Regions from separate parts of the Homo sapiens genome. Here region 1 is linked to region 2. Evidence: promoter capture Hi-C in human tissues and cell types (Jung and others, 2019). All regions are on one chromosome and are shown on one strand. Each heading gives the region's core, a stretch centred on a gene start or on the middle of the fragment in contact. The rest is flanking DNA. Distances are from core to core; before and after follow the strand shown.

Region 1 (4,007 bases), core at 1,210-3,709, 530 kb after region 2:
AACAAAAGATTCACAAGTGAAAGAGCCTGGGTTGGTAGTCTTTAAAACTGGTGTTATTGTCCATTTCTCTGCATCCTGAGGCCTCTTCCTAACAGAGTTTGGTCTTGGGACATAATCTCACAGTTCCCATGTAAGCCCGGTACTGAGGCCTGGCAGTGGCTGTACAAGGCTACATAGTGACTTACAGTTAAAATAACCCAGGTGAGGCCAGGCACGGTGGCTCACGCCTGTAATCCCAGCACTTTGGGAGGCTGAGGCGGACAGATCACGAGGCCAGGAGATCGAGACCATCCTGGCTAACACGATGAAACCCTGTCTCTACTAAAAATACAAAAAATTAGCCGGGCGTGGTGGTGGGCGCCCGTAGTCCCAGCTACTCGGGAGGCTGAGGCAGGAGAATGGTGTGAACCCAGGAGGCAGAGGTTGCAGTGAGCCGAGATCAGGCCACTGCACTCCAGCCTGGGTGACAGAGCAAGACTCTGTCTCAAAAACAACAAACAAACAAACAAAAAAGAACCCAGGAGAAACCAAATTTGCAAGGCCTGATTTGTATGTGGCAAAATAGAAATAGAATGTGAGGCTCTCTTGGATCACGCTCAATGTAAAACCGACACAAGTAACACAAGTAAAAAACACACAATTAACTGACTAAATGCAAGCGTGAGGAGAAAGGTGATAAGGGAAGATAAGCTGTAAATATGTGTTTAAAGCCTTCTTAGGAGGTAATCATTTTTCATTTTTTATGGAGAATATTATTCAGCCATAGGTACTATTCAGCTATTCAGCACATTAACACATCACCTAAGTGTTTTTGAATGTAATCTTTAATTCTCAATCTCACATAAAAGTTTTCTTTCCCTACTGAAAAAAGAAATAAAAGCTTCTCTTGAAATTTTAGAAAATAAAAAAAATGTCAAATGACACTCCAGTAAATACTGAAATACAGAATGCAATTTATCTCAGGAAAAACCAGAAGACTAAGGTCTGTAAAAGCTTTCTCTGTCTGCTGGCAAAGTCCACAGTACAGGCCAAGTAGAAAAGCCTATTTAGGTGCCTCCAAACTGTTCTTTGCCCCAGAGCCCAGATGCCACCCCCGGCAGAAGAAGCCATGGCTGGGTGAGGGCAGCTGAGGGGTGGGGAGGCAGATGTGGAGGGAAGGACCACAGGGGGCCGCTCCCTCTTGCCCTAGACCTGCCCTAGCTGGGCAGAGTTCAGAGAGCAGATGCCTTGCTGTAAAAATGAAACAAGTCTAGGGAGAGGCCTGGACTTCTGGTGAGTCCAGGCTCTGCTACTTCCTGGATGTTTCCTTGGTAAGCCCTTTTTGTGGGACTCCCATTTCCTCATCCTGTCTGTGCCATGAGGTTCCCTCAGATGATCCTGACCATAACTCCCACTGTTCTAAACATCTGAAACTCTAATGGGAAAAGGGAGTTTCCTTGATCATAGTGAGTGATCTAAAGCTGTCTATGAGTGGGCTGATTCTCCAAGCAAGCCAGGACTGTCACATTTAAAAACTGAGACATTACTGCCACCTCTTGACTAATTATTGACAAGTTACCCAGGCCAATGAAACTCAGCAGGAGGGGGCCTTTCTTTTAAAATCTGGCTTTGCGGCTGGGTGCAGTGGCTCACACTTGTAATCCCAGCACTTCGGGAGCCCAAGGTGGGCAGATCACGAGGTCAGGAGTTCGAGGCCAGCCTGACCAACATGGTGAAACGCTGTCTCTACTAAAAATACAAAAATTAGCCAGGCCTGGTGGTGCGCGCCTGTGATCCCAGCTACTCAGGAGGCTGAGGCAGGAGAATTGCTTGAACCTGGGAGGCGGAGCTTGCAGTGAGCCGAGATTACACCACAGCACTCCAGCCTGGGCGACAGAGCAAGACTCCATCTAAAACACCTTAAAAAAAAAAAAAAAATCTGGGCTTTGGGCACTGGGCTTTGTTGAAGGGGAAGAAGATGCTTATGCCAAGGTGTGCGCATGAAGGGCAACTGTCTTTTTTTTTTTTTTTTTGGAGACAGAGTCTCATTATGTCACCCAGAGCTGGGGTGCAGTGATGTGATCTTCGCTCACTGCAGCCTTGACCTCCTGAGCTCAAGTGATCCTTCCACCTCAGCCTCCATAGTAGCTGGGACAACAGGCATGTGCCACCATGCCTCGCTAATTTTTTTATTTTAATTTTTTAATGGAGACAGGGTCTTGCTATGATGCCAGGCTGATCTCAAACTCTTGGTGTCAAGTGATCCTCCTGCCTTGGTTTCCCACAGTGCTGAGAGTATCGACGTGATGGGCTCTCACTCTGTCACCCAGGCTGGAGTGCAGTGGCATCATCTTGGCTCACTGCAACCTCTACTTCCCAGGCTCAAGCCATCCTCCCACCTCAGCCTCCCGAGTAGCCAGGACCACAGGCGTGCACCACCATGTCTGACTAATTTTTTTGTATTTTTTGGTAGAGACAGGGTTTTGCCATGTTGCTAAGGCTGGTCTTGAACTCCTGAGCTCAACCGATCCACCCACCTTGGCCTCCCAAAGTGCTGGGATTACAGGTATGAGCCTCAGTGCCTGGTGAAAATGTTTCATTAAGTACAATTAATTTTGTCCAACTGAGGGAAGATTTTGTCTAAATGCTTCTCAGTTGTTTTTGTAGGATGGTTTGTACTTTGTCAAGAGTCCTTTTACTCTTGCTCTCTGATCTTCCCATCAACCATACGAGGTGGAGAGAGTGGGGTACCCAATGTACAGATGGAAACACAGAGGCCCTGAGCGAATGAGTTGACTTAGGAAGAGCAGCGGCCCAGGCAGCCCAAGCAAGCCCCTGGTTAGGGCTCGTTCTTTTTTTTTTTTTTTTTTGAGACAAAGTCTTACCCTGTAGCTCAGGCTGGAGTGCAGTGATGCAATCTCGGCTCACTGCAACCTCCGCCTCCCAGGTTCAAGCGATTCTCTTGCCCCAGCCTCCCGAGTAGCTGGGAATACAAGCATGCGCCACCATGCCCGGCTAATTTTTTGTATCTTTAGTAGAGACGGGTTTTCACTATGTTGGCCAGGCTAGTCTTGAACTCCTGACCTTATGATCTGCCCACCTCAACCTTCCAAAGTGCTGGAATTACAGGCATGAGCCACTGCGCCTAGCCTCCTTCTTTTATATTGGTGTCTGGTACAGAGGACTAGGAATTTGGGAAACAAGCTTATTTATAGACAGTGGAGAAAGAAAACCAGTCCCAGCACCCTTAACTTCCATCATTTCCTTTTAGTCATTTTTTTTTTTTTGACGGAGTCTCACTCTGTCACCCAAGCTGGAGTGCAGTGATGCCATCTTGGCTCACTGCAAGCTCCGCCTGCTGGGTTCACGCCATTCTCCTGCCTCAGCCTCCCGAGTAGCTGGGACTACAGGCACCCGCCAACACGCCCGGCTAATTTTTTGTATTTTTTAGTGGAGACGGGGTTTTACCGTGTTAGCCAGGATGGTCTCAATCTCCTGACCTCATGATCCACCCGCCTTGGCCTCCCAGAGTGCTGGGATTACAGGCGTGAGCCACCGCGCCCAGGCAGCAACTCCTTTTAGTCTTGAGAAAAGCAGGGCAATTATGATTGAACACTAATAAGTTGGAAAGCTGAGGCACAACGCATGCCTTCTCTAAAGCCACTTTACAACATGAGAAGAGATGTACCACTCTGGACACAAAGAAGGGAAAAACCAGGAAGCGGGAGAGAAAGAAATCCCAGATGCCTACCTTCATGCTCCAAGCACTGCTCCACGTTAGAAAGACACCTGGACCACTGCTGGCTGTGCGAATCTTGGTATTCCAACGTCCTTTGACCCTGAGCAGAGACCTTGGCAGGCGTGCTCTGCGAATCTTCCTTCTCCACTACTCCAAAGAATGCTTTCCAAGAAGACTTTTTCTTGCCAAGGTTTATGGCCTTCTCACTGGATTGGGAATTTCTGCAAGGCCATGACACCTCTGTCCATGACTCATTTGCTGAACAATTCCCCAGGCCCCTCTGGGACAA
Region 2 (3,882 bases), core at 254-2,753:
AAGACTGTGAAACAGAAGACGCTGAGAAGCACAAAGAAGGACGGTTTTTACTTTAAAAACTGGCAAATTTTAGAAGTCTGATTCCTTAAAATAAAAAAGTCCAAATCCAAAACAACCTGAAACATCAATAAACAAATCTTTGACCATCCCTATCTTCAGGAAATAAAACTAAACAACACTAATGTGGGTAGATGTAAAGAGAGAAAGGCGGCCAGGCGCGGTGGCTCACGCCTGTAATCCCAGCACTTTGGGAGGCCGAGGCGAGCGGACACCTAAGATTGGGAGTTCGAGACCAGCCTGACCAACATGGAGAAACCCCATCTCTACCAAAAATACAAAATTAGCCGGGCATGGTGGTGCATGCCTGTAATCCCAGCTGCTCGGGAGGCTGAGGCAGGAGAATCGCTTGAACCCGGGAGGCGGAGGTTGTGGTGAGCCGAGATCGCGCCATTGCACTCCAGCCTGGGCGACAAGAGCGAAACTCCGTCTCAATTAATAAATAAAGACAAAAAGGCTATACATAGATAAACTATTTGGATTAACCAATAATGAACATTATCTATTATTTTATAATCATAAAGTAAGTGATTTGGACAGGGAAATTGGATGGTGATGGGCTATTAAAGTTAACAAGAGGAAAATCAGTATTTTTTTAGAGAAGGCTTTCTAGTGGAGGTTAAACTCCACACTGGCCAAATAGCAACAGGAGCTTAGCGGTGTTCCAACCAACCACAGGAAATAGCTCAGAGGGGGAGTGAACTGATTATATGAATGGGGCATTGAGTAAGGGAGCCTGAGAGAAGGGGAATCGTCAAGGGGAATAAGGCTGGTTCAGCGTGCACTAAAGTCTCCAAACTGGAGAGAGGAGGCAGCAAAAAAGTGCAAGAAGAAAAAGTACAGTAGTTTCTTATCTCGACAGGCAAGTTAAGGACTAGGGGTTGCACTACCTGGAAAGCTAGCAAACGCCCTGGGAGTGAAAAATTTCCAGAGAGGGCCCTTCCTGGAAAAACGCAGCCCCGGTGTTCCCTGATTTCCTGGCTGGGTACCATCGGGCAGTGGACTGGAGAGGCGCAGGGATGTTTTAGGCAGGTGTCTCTTGGGTGTTGGCGTGGACTACATAGCGGAGGTTCAGCCGCGGGACTAGCATTGAGCGACAAGAAGGCGGCGGCGCGTGCAAACCACAAGACTTACCTTACTGTCATCCATCGCGGCAGACAGGCCGGCCTGGCCAGGCACTCCCTCCCGGAGCCCTCCCCCGGCTCAGCCGGCCTGGCCCGGCCCCCGCCCCGAGGAAGAAGGGGATATGGTTCTGGCTGCCTCCTCCTCTCGCCTAACAGTTCGCTTCCCTGATGCCAGAGTCACGGGGACGAGGGACCAGTTCAGGAATGGCAGAGCGGACCCTGGAGGCGGCCCCAAACGCCTCCCTTCGCCGCCGCCGCCTCCTCCTCCCCCTCCATGACAGTCTCTGGGTGTTTACAGACGCTCTGGAGAGCCGCCGAGACCGGAGGGTGGGCGGGAGCGCTGCACACGGAATGGCCCCTTCGGCTGCCGTAGCACCGCGGCATTCTGGGAATTGTGATTTTTCTTATCACAGTCTCTGCGCTACTGACTGGAAAAAAAACTACGATGTCCACATAGCCTCATTAAGGGGCAGCTGTTTTCCTTTTGCCTACTAGCTAGCGCTGAGGAGGCGGGGCTGGGCTGGAGGCCCAAAGTGCGCCTGACCTGAGGTTTTGGCTCCTAAGTGCCAGGGCCTGGAATGGCGGGGACGGGAGTTTGGTGCTCTGCGGAGGCAGCCCTGAAGGCGGGGTGCCGGAAGCAGGCCCTCCTCTGGGACGCTGAGGAAACCCTAAAGGTTCTTTATTTAAAAAAAAACGAAAAACAAAAACTAAGTATGTAAAATAGTGCAGCTACTTTGGGAAGAAATTTGGCAGTTCTTCAGAATATTGGCCACTCCCATACCCAAGAGAAATTAAAACGAGTGACTACACAAAAACTTGTATATAAATGTTCTTTCCTAGCAGCATTATTCATAATAGTCAAAAAGTGGAAACAACGCAAATGTCCTTTACTGGATGAATGGATAAACCAGTGTGGACTATACAAATTAAGAAATACTGGCCAGGGGTGGTGGGTCACGCCTGTAATCCCAGCACGTTGGGAGGCCGAGGCGGGAGGATTGCTTTAGCCCAAGAGTTCGAGACCAGCCTGGGCAACATAGCAAAACCTGTCTCTACAAAAAAATACAAAAATTAGTCGAGTGTGGTGGCACATGCCTGTAATCCCAGTTACTGGGGAGGCTGACATGAGAGGATCACTTGGGCCTGGGAGGCAGAGGCTGCAATAAGCCAAGATTGTACCACTGCACTCCAGCCTGGGCGACAGAGCCAGACACTGTATTTAAAAAAAAAAAAAAGAAGAAGAAGAATGAAAGAAGGAAGAAGAACGATGAAGGAAGAAGAAGGAGAAGAAGGAAGAAGAAAGAAGAAGGAAGAAGACCCATATAGTAAGATGCAGTCTCTACAAAAAAAATTAAAAATTAGTTGGGTGTGTTACAAAAAATTTAAAAATTACTTGGGTGTGGTGGTGGTGCTTGTAGTCCTAGCCACTCGGGAGGCCCAGGTGGGAGGATCGTTTGAGCCCTGGAGTTGGAGGCTGAAGTGAGCTGTGATCACGGCACTCCAGCCTGGGCAACAGAGCAAGACTCTGTCTCAAAAAAAAAGGAAAGAAATATTATTCAGCAATGAAAAAAAATGAAGGGATATACACACTTCAATATGTCTGAACCTTGAAAACTTTATGTGAAGTGAAAAAAGCCAGACACAATAGGCCACATATTGTATGATTCCATTTATAATGAAGTGTCTGGAACAGGCACATCTAAATAGACCAAAAAATCCATTAGTGGTTGCCAAGGGCTAGGGTTGAAGAATGGCAGGGATGGAGGGATCCTGGAAAGGAGAGTGACGGTTAATGAGTACTGGGTTTCTTTTTGAGGTGATGAAAATGATCTAAAATTCAGCCGGGCATGGTGGCTCACGCCTGTAATCCCAGCACTTTGGGAGGCCGAGGTGGGCTGATCACCTGAGGTCAGGAGTTCGAGACCAGCCTGACCAACATGGAGAAACCCATCTCTACTAAAAATACAAAGTTGGCCAGGCCTGGGAGAGCATACCTGTAATCCCAGCTACGTGGGAGGCTGAGGCAGGAGAATGGCTTAAACCCAGGAGGCGGAGGTTGCAGTGAGTTGAGACCGTGCCATTGCACTCCAGCCTGAGCAACAAGAGCGAAACTCCGACTCAAAAAAAAAAAAAAAAAAAAAGAAGAAAAGAAAATTATCTAAAATTGATTTTGGTGATGGTTGCACATCCTGTGAATATATTAAAAACCACTAAATTGTAGTTTAACTGTAGTTAAACCACTTTAAATGAGTGGATTATATCTCAATAAAGTTATTTTAAAAATAACTGGCTGTGTCCTCATTTAATAAAGTCAGTGAGCTTGTTTTTACTGTTGTTTTTGTTTTGGCCTACCTCGGGCCTTTGAGAACTTGACAAAGATTGCATATTTGTCAATGCTGCTCCTGAAGAGCCCTTTGGCTCACACCTTTTCAAAGACTCACAAAGTGCTTTCTCAACCCTTGCAAAATCCAACTGAGGTAGAGTTCTCAGATTTAGCAATATAGACACAGAATACTCAATTACATTCGAATTTCAGATAAACCGCAAATACTCTTTTAGGAAAGTGTGTCCCATGCAACTTTTTTTTTTTTTTTTGAGACAGAGTTTCGCTCTGTCACCCAGGCTGGAGTGCAGTGGTGCAATCTCGGCTCATTACAGCCTCTGCCTCCCAGGTTCATGCCATTCTCCTGCCTCAGCCTCC

What was found. The method cuts DNA at HindIII sites, captures the fragments that hold promoters and counts their contacts. A contact is called where the count stands out against the background at its distance.
Region 1: a fragment that was not itself captured here is called in contact with the fragment with the promoter of CREBL2 in region 2 in 1 of the 25 tissues and cell types used here (mesenchymal stem cells).

What each region holds. Positions count from the first base shown.
Region 1 is chr12:12,079,462-12,083,468 of GRCh38, reverse strand. It overlaps BCL2L14 (BCL2 like 14), which reads right to left. Exons shown (of 6, transcript NM_138723.2): 2 at 3,731-4,007. Among named protein-coding and RNA genes, the nearest start is that of BCL2L14, 11 kb to the right of the region's middle. RefSeq lists a silencer at 1,340-1,634. The HindIII fragment of the contact is 3,043 bases long and covers 938-3,980 here.
Region 2 is chr12:12,609,497-12,613,378 of GRCh38, reverse strand. CREBL2 (cAMP responsive element binding protein like 2) reads right to left here and starts at 1,503. Exons shown (of 4, transcript NM_001310.4): 1 at 1,192-1,503. The coding sequence starts at 1,206. RefSeq lists a silencer at 1,150-1,449 and enhancers at 1,610-1,659, 1,710-1,789, 1,383-2,134. The HindIII fragment of the contact is 23,854 bases long and covers 1-3,882 here.